2 separate regions of the Homo sapiens genome follow, and region 2 is linked to region 1. Evidence: promoter capture Hi-C in 16 types of primary human blood cells and fetal thymus (Javierre and others, 2016). All regions are on one chromosome and are shown on one strand. Each heading gives the region's core, a stretch centred on a gene start or on the middle of the fragment in contact. The rest is flanking DNA. Distances are from core to core; before and after follow the strand shown. Region 1 holds the start of PLA2G4A (phospholipase A2 group IVA). Region 2 has its middle 48 kb from the start of PLA2G4A.

Evidence for each region. The method cuts DNA at HindIII sites, captures the fragments that hold promoters and counts their contacts. A CHiCAGO score of 5 or more calls a contact.
Region 2: a fragment that was not itself captured here is called in contact with the fragment with the promoter of PLA2G4A in region 1 in 1 of 17 cell types (monocytes); the score reaches 5.3 in monocytes.

Annotation. Positions count from the first base shown.
Region 1 is chr1:186,826,560-186,830,820 of GRCh38, reverse strand. PLA2G4A (phospholipase A2 group IVA) reads right to left here and starts at 1,872. Exons shown (of 18, transcript NM_024420.3): 1 at 1,786-1,872. The HindIII fragment of the contact is 13,801 bases long and covers 1-4,261 here.
Region 2 is chr1:186,778,688-186,782,948 of GRCh38, reverse strand. No RefSeq gene overlaps it. Among named protein-coding and RNA genes, the nearest start is that of PLA2G4A, 48 kb to the left of the region's middle. The HindIII fragment of the contact is 1,387 bases long and covers 1,376-2,762 here.

The DNA.
Region 1 (4,261 bases), core at 623-3,122:
ATATGTAGATGATTCGATTTTATGACTGCTTTCTAAGTACCAGCACTAGAAAAGATAATGGGTTAAAAACATAAGCCAAATAACCTCTATGGAATGAACATTTTCAGTTGCTAAAAATCTATTTAATAATTTTTCTTTTCCTAATTAAATGTAAATGCAAAAATGCAAAACACTTCAGAATAACTTACTTTTTTTTTTTTTTTTTTTTTTTTGAGACAGAGCTTCGCTGTTTTCGCTCAGGCAGGAGTGCAATGGCGCGATCTTGGCTCACTGCAACCTCCACCTCCTGGGTTCAAGCGATTCTCATGCCTCAGCCTCCCAAGTAGCTGGGATTACAGGCACCTGCCACCACGTCCGGCTAGTTTTTCTATTTTTAGTAGAGATGGGGTTTCACCACGTTGGCCAGGCTGGTCTCGAACTCCTGCCCTCAAGTGATCCACCCGCCTCGGCCTCCCAAAGTGCTGGTATTACGGGCATGAGCCACTGCGCCCAGCCAGAATAACTTACTTTTTAAAAATATGTTAAAAAGATGCAATGTCTTATCTCAAAAAATATGCTTCCCCTAAGGGAAGTTTGTAAAACTCCTTTGAGCAAATGCACATTAAACACTTCTCTATGCATTTCACAATTATTGCTTAATTTAAAATTTAACTCTTCCGGAGCTAATGAAAGAAGTAAATACCTGTTTCTTATCCCAACCTCTAACTTGATTGGCAAGGTGTAGGAACCTGTAGAATGTAACTTTAAAATTCTTAACAGAGCTTGTTTCACTACAGTCCTCTACAAATATCCCTTGAGCCACAATTCTAAATTTAAACAACAAAGAGAAACAAAAATACAAATCTTCTTTGAACTCAAATTATATTGGCAAATATAACTTTAGAATTGACACCCATTCAGACAGTACGCCTCTAATACTCTCCATCTGCCTTAGCTGAATAAATGCTGACATCATCAACCCATATGAGGAGTATTTCTTGTTCTGGTTTTGGAGGTGAATTTATTTTTAAGACTAAAATGATTATAAATTGTAGGAGACAGATACATTCATCCACTGATACTTTAAAATCAAATACCTTTTTTTTCTGTTTTTTTTGGAAACAAAATTACTGAAATATCCACACTCAAAATTTAACTATGTAATTTGATCAAATCTTTTCTAGTATCTAGTTTTGAGATTTTTTTTTTCTCTTGGCAAGCCAAGTAACTTAGGGGAAGGGTGGATCATCAGAACACCAGTCCGTTTACAGTTAATTTTTCAATAATCCTCTTTCTTTCGCATAATTCTGCAAAATATTGACTAGCCAGGAAAGCGTCCCATAAGTAACAAAAATGACCAATTTTTAGAAATTAAAAGTTAAGTGAGTCAACAAAGTCTCTCGCTAAAGATCGCTAGGGCTGTCAAACAGCACAGCATGCTGCTGCTCAAGTTTGGGGATCAGTAACCATTGGGTGTCATCACGTGGAACGCTAATAAGCGCCACCTCACCGCCGTTTTGAATGCTAACTTTCTGGGATTCCAACCCAAAGAAACACCTTAATCTTTGACTCCACAGTGCATTTAGATCCAGGAAGGCAAATCTGCGTGGGTTTGAAGAAAATTGAGGTCCCTAATCTGTGTTTCACTTCAAAAGGCAGAGGACATGCTGACTTTTTAAAGCAGCGAGGTTTCCCCTCCGTCCTTTCTTCCTTCCAAGTAAACTACCAAGTAAAAGCTAAGGAGGGTGGGAGAGAGAAGTGGAGCAGAGGAAGAATAAATATATTGCTTACAGTTCCCAGAGTTACCTGAGAATCTTCAGGCTCCTCAATGCCTCTAGCTTTCAGTCAGGATCCTTTTTCAGCTCCGGACTTAGAGAAAGTCTTATCCTGAGTAGGAGGGGCTAAAATGTGGGCTGGTCTCCTTGCGCTTTTGCAGATGTTTTAAGGTGGAATTAAAGGGGAAGAGGGAGAACGCTCTCTTCTCATAGAAGCTAATATTGTAAATGTAAATGCTTAGTTATTAGAACCAGGAGTTTGAAGTCAGAAAATATGCTTAAATAATATGTAAATTAATCAGTCCTAAATTCCATGAGTGCTGTTGTGGATTTCTGTGTGTGTGATGTGTGTGTGTGTGTGTGTGTGTGTGCGTGCGCGCGTCTGAAATTGCTACTTGTCCTTAAGTAGTAACTACTTCCTCCTTTTTTCCAAAGGAGAACAAAATTGAAAAGACAGTGAATAACCTAGAGCATTTTTGCATTATTTAAAAAGGCAAAGTTTATAACAAACCCCAAATATAAAAATGTACATTTTTAAAAAATGAGTATCAGACCACTTTAAAAATCAAATCTGTTTAAATATTTCCACTCCAGACTCAGAACACCTGTGTTGATAATAATTTCTTTGTAAATTTAAGATTAAAGGCATACCAAATAATGTAATATATATGTTGAGATTTAGGGAAGAAAATGAAATCAGGTTGAATTCCAAATTTGCAGTGTAAATCCAAATACCTTATAGCACTGTAATGAAGAAGGTGCATTGTTTAAATGTACCCAAATTCCATGAGAATCAATTCATGTCTTTAAAGATTGACATGTTCATTTAGTATATCTTGTTTTTCAAACACAGGATCTTGTTTTTGCCTTTAATTAAATACTGAACTCACTCTCCTAACTCTCTTACAATATTTTCAAAGAATATAATTTCACTAAATCTTCTGGAATATCTGCTTTCTGTAGCCCAACATTCAACTCTTATTTGTTTTTATTTTTTTCCCCTAAATTCAACCTGGCATATTATAAATCTCTCTTTGAAAAAAAAAAAAGCCAGTAATGTCTTTTTTAGGAAGGATAGATTTATAATAAACATTTTTCGGGCTGGGCACGGTGGCTCACGCCTGTAATCCCAGCACTTTGGGAGGCCAAGGCGGGCGGATCACGAGGTCAGGAGATCGAGACTATCCTGGCTAACACGGTGAAACCCCCGTCTCTACTAAAAATACAAAAAATTAGCCGGGTGTGGTGGCGGGCGCCTGTAGTCCCAGCTACTTGGGAGGCTGAGGCAGGAGAATGGCGTGAACCCGGGAGGCAGAGCTTGCAGTGAGCCAAGATTGCGCCATTGCACTCCCGCCTGGGCCACAGAGCGAGACTCCGTCTCAAAAAAAAAAAAAAAAAAAAAAAAAAAAAAAAAAAAAAAAAAAAAAAAAAATTTCTCTTTCCAAAGAAATCCCTGAATTTCTAGAAAGGAGGTGTATGTTAATTAGAGGAGCAGAGAGCACACTGGTAGTTTTCATCTCTTTCCCCCAGACACAACTGGTGAAAGAAAGAATCTATACTGCAGGGCATGTTCGTTCTAAGACTCTGATAAAAAAGACTCCCTGGAAAAGCAGCTTCACAGTGCTTGCTTATAGAGCACAAAAAAAGTGCTCTAGTGCTTTTTTGATAACAAAAAGTTATAGCTCTCAATATTTCCAGATGATATCCAATAGTGTGTCATGCATTAAAGATAAAAAATTTATTTAAACGCTTTTAAAGAAAATGTCATTATATGTCATGGTTAGGGTTAATATATACGGGGAGAAGTTTGTCTCTTTCCCGCCTTACTAAATGAAGCTGATTTATCTCCACCTTTATAATGAATAAAGGCTGCTGCAGGTATGTCTTTTCCTCTCTGGAATCAGTGCAGACCAAATCCCATTTACCCATTTTGTGGTTCTATGGCCTCCTTATCTCATCTATTTTGGCTCACTACTTGTGATCTCACTGTTCACATAGACCCCTAGGTGGATAGTACAAGTTCAGATTTGCCGTCTTCACTTTGCCCAATTTCCTCCAAAAATATTTTCAGCATTGACCTACTGACTTCAAAAACCTCTGCTTCCACCTTAGGTAAGATAGGCCCTGACTTCCATAGCGTGCTTCAGTCTATAGGATCAATTATGTCTGAAGACCCCTCTCCACTTGGTTTGTCCATCAACAAAGATTAGTCATCTGGGACCCATCTGAAACTGAGAAATATCATAGCAGCTTCTTTGAATCCAATTCTACCATTTGCACTATTTCCAGCTAATAAGTTTCATGCAGTTTGCTAGTAATTTTCCACATCTTTAAAATTTTAGAAAGAGAATAATAAGCTAAGAACTAGATAAGTAATCAAAAGGAACAACCCCAAAACTGGCCAAATTAACTAACAAAGAACACCTACTTGTCAAAAGCCATGGCTCAAAAACCCCAGGGGGTTGGGAGGGGGAACCCTGATGTTTGTATGATTGATTTTTCTTTCT
Region 2 (4,261 bases), core at 820-3,319, 48 kb after region 1:
CAGTACAAGAAGCCTTCTCCCAGAATCTCTACCTGTGACTTGTTGTGGGGGCCTGCCTCTCACTGCAGAGAAGGCAAAGCAGGAAGAAATCACACAAAACAGCAAGGGCTGTAAGGAGAGCATCCCTTCTTCCGAGTCAGCAGCAGGTCCAAAGAGTGTTTTAAAAGTGCCCAGGACATAGTGAGAGTACAATCAACTCCCTACACAGAGTATCATTGTATTGGTTCTCCTAAGACGGAATCTTTCCATCCTCTTTTCCAAATATGCTGCCCAAATAGTTCCCCTAAATATTTTTAGTTCCAGTTTCATTGTACTCTAATAATAATGTAATATTCAACCACTATATTTTCTATTTATATTGAATAATGTAATGAATGCTTTTCAAGTAAGAAGATCTTGTGGATGGAGTCTGTATCAGGCCCTGTATTACACGAATGAGCAAAATTGTGTCTTTTCCTCATTCTTAAGTTTGGCTTAGCTATTGCTACGTGTGATAAACAAATCGATGACATGTTTGGCTGCTTAAGTTTACAAATTCATGTAATAAACTCTCATAGGACAGAAAAAGACTGCAAATTACATAGTCTATTCTGATGTTTTTTAAGATGTAAAGATTAGATAACTCATATCTTGACATGTAGCCAGGTACACTGTGGATAATTATAGTAAGATGCAGCACTCTTTGAATGGCCGAAAGCTGTAATTCTCCCCATGTACTAGAGTGAGGCAAGTAGGAAGTCTACCTGGGAGGTAAAAAAACAAAACAAAAAAAAACTAAAATAGATGGCAAAAGAAAAATAGGAGATAGTTCAAAGGTAAGCAGTAAAAAGACAGAATCGACTGTGGAAGAAACGGCTGTTATTACCAAGTCTGACATAGCACACAGAACTAGATACCTACAGGATGAGGTGTAACTTGGAAGTTCAGCAAGGAAGACTGATGCACTATATTTGTTTTGTCAGATTCAGGCAGAGGGAACTGGGAGGACCCAGAGAGGGAAACTGGGAGGACCAAAGGAAGTTCTCAGCCAAAGTGACTTCAGCACTTGGAAGTTGCCAGAATTTGGAAATGCAGTGGGGCTGGATCACAGCAGAAGACTATTACAGAGAATGGGAACAAGGGCAAGAGTAACGCCAGCAGAAAGCGATAGATGAGTAGGCTATTTCTTTTGTCCCTTTTACTGACAACGAGGATGAAATGAGGGTCTACGTAGTTTCAACTCCATGCAGAAGAGATCTGGCAAACTAGAAAACAAAGGGAGAAAAACTGAGGCACAGAAAGCTACAGAGCAAGTTACCAAGATAAATAAAGCAGCAAAAGAAATAACCTGTGCCCAGACTCCATCTCTAATAATTTTTTTTAACATCACCAAGCTTTCACTTGATTTATAAATAAATTTTTTTACTTTGGAAGGTAACTATCTCTTTTATTATTCTAACTATCAAATTTGATGAAGATTTTTTTCTCCATATTTACTGTTTAAAAAGGCAACAGTTTGAGGATTGATTTTAGCTACATCTGGCCTGAAAAGCAACAATAATTCATTTAGAATAAAGTAAAATGAATTATACGTATCTTCCAATTTAATACTTTACAAGAGAAGTACAGTGCTTTTACACAATTCATTTGTGAACACAGAGAAGTATATTTGTTCAATTTTGGCTAGACTAGCAGTAAGCTACTTGCTCTTTATATGTTTTATTCTGCCAATTTATTCAAGAAAAACTTACCAAGAGCTTACTATAAGCTGGATGCTTGGGGTACAGCAGTGAGCAAAACAAAGATTCCTGCTGTCATGCAACTTTCATTTGAATAGGAAAAGATGGTCAATAACCATAGATATAACAAATATTTATTTAGTATGTAGAAGATGTAGGAGTGAAAAGGTGTGCTAACCTTTCCATGGCTGACACACCTATAACAAGAGACACCTTAACGAGAGAAAAGCAAAACAAATTTATTTAATCAAAATTTATGTGTCATGAGATCCTTTAGAATGAAGACCCAAGGATACTTTTTTTTTTTTTTGAGATGGAATTTTGCTCTTGTTGCCCAGGCTGGAGTGCAATGGCTCGATCTCGGCTCACTGCAACCTCTGCCTCCCGGGTTCAAGCCATTCTCCTGCCTCAGCCTCCCGAGTAGCTAGGATTACAGGCATGAGCCACCACACCTGGCTAATTTTGTATTTTTAGTAGAGACAGGGTTTCTCCATGTTGGTCAGGCTGGTCTCGAACTCCAGACCTCAGGTGATCTGCCCACCTCAGCCTCCCAAAGTGCTGGGATTACAGGCATGAGCCACCGTGCCCGGCCAAGGATACATTTTTATGTATTGGTTCAATGAAGAACAGAGGATCTTATAAAAATATGGACAAAAAAGGATATGGTCAAATACTAGTAGACTGAGTAGAGAAACCCAGCAAGGCTTGTCTGTTCAGATTCTTTTTGACCTATTTGTTGTAGCATCTCTTCCTCCCAGCTATGGGTAAGACCCCTTTGAAATGAGGTCTTATGACCTCCTATCTGACATGGTACATCAGTGAACTTTTTTATGGCCAATTTCTACACAGAAAGGTAGGGAAAGAGTACACAATAATTTCAGTTTTTATAGCTTGCTTTGGGGAAAAGAGGTTCTTGTTTCTACCCTGCCTTGGGGAAGAATAATTCTGGTTTCTATGACTCATGTTAGGGGAAAATGAGGGGCCAGAGACAGATGGTCAGGAAAAGATCAGATAGAGCTTTGTTCTGATGCTGTTTCTGAAGCTTTCAGATTGCCTTTAGTTAAAAGACCTCAACATGCCAAAATATGTCACTTTATCTTTGTTGGGGCTCAGAAAATGATATGCCAAAGTATATCACATCATTTTCTGAGCCCCAGCAAAGATAATTAGTGCTATAGGAAAAAAATTAGAACCGAATGGGGTAAGGGTGATCATGAGTGTGATGTGGGGGGTAGGTAATTTTTAAGAGAATCCCCAGAGTAATCTCAAGTAAACTCAATGATAAAAATTGAGCCAAGGTTTAAAAGAGGTAAGGGAGTTCGCCAGTAGACATCTAAGGTGGCAGGTGTGGTTTGTTCAAGGAACAGAAAGGAGGCCTGTGTGACTGGAGAGGAGGGAGCAAAGAAGAAGGAGAGAGGAAGAATAATAGAAAAGAAGATCTAATTTCAAAAGTAATTCACATGATGAAAATATAATTTACATTGACCTAAATCCCTGGAGGAATCTGTAAAAGCAATCATTGCACCTAAACAGACATGTGTTATGGAAAGCAATACTTCAGATCAACATAGCATTCGCTGAAATCTTAAATTTATGTGTTAAGTTGGAAAGCTATTTGGGAAAGGGGAAAGAGGAAGTTCATTCAATCATCATAAGTAGCTTAACAGAGCTGAAAATATTTTTGATCTGTCTACCAATCATCTCTCTGTTGTGAGATGAATAGTTATGTCTCCCCAAAATTCATATGATAAGACCCTAACCCCCAATGTGATGGTATTTGGAGGTAGAACATGTGGGAGATAATTAAGTCTAGAGTAGGCCATGAAAGTGGGACCCTAATGATGAGATTTGTACCCTCATAAAGACAGAAAGACACAGAGAACTTTCTCTGCCTGTACACAAAGAAGAGATCATGAAAGCTCACAGCGTGGTGGTGGCCATCTGTGCACCAGGAGGCAAGCCCTCACTAAGAAACAAATCTGTCAGTACCTTGATCTTGGATGTTCCACCCTCCAGAATTGTGAGAAAGAAATGTCTATTGTTTAAGCTACACATCGTAAGGGATTCCCTTATAGCAGCCCAAGTGGAGTAAGGCATTACTATCTATTTCCTTCTAATACCCCAAAGCAGCAGATATCTGTTCACCTACCTGTCACAATGGAAGAGATTGTAAAAGAACAAAGGCACCAGATCTGCAACATTTTAAATGAAACTGGGATGTACTAATCTGCATCTATTTGATGCCTCAAAGACTCAAATAGCAATTTCAAGAACAGGAAAATAGAAAAGTATCATTCCCTAGAAACAAAGATACACCTACTAGTGCTTGGGCAAGTAGCGATGTCTGCTAATGCCTGTTTAGAGGTTAGGTGGTTTCATTCTGCTGCTTCTTTTTGCTTGGAGCAAGCATAATAAGTTTAAATTAAATTTAATAAATGTCAACAATAAAAATAATGAGTGTATTTGGAAACATGAGTGTTTATTTAAATACACAGGTGCTGACTTGCCAACTTAAAGAACACAACAACAAAATTAACCAGACT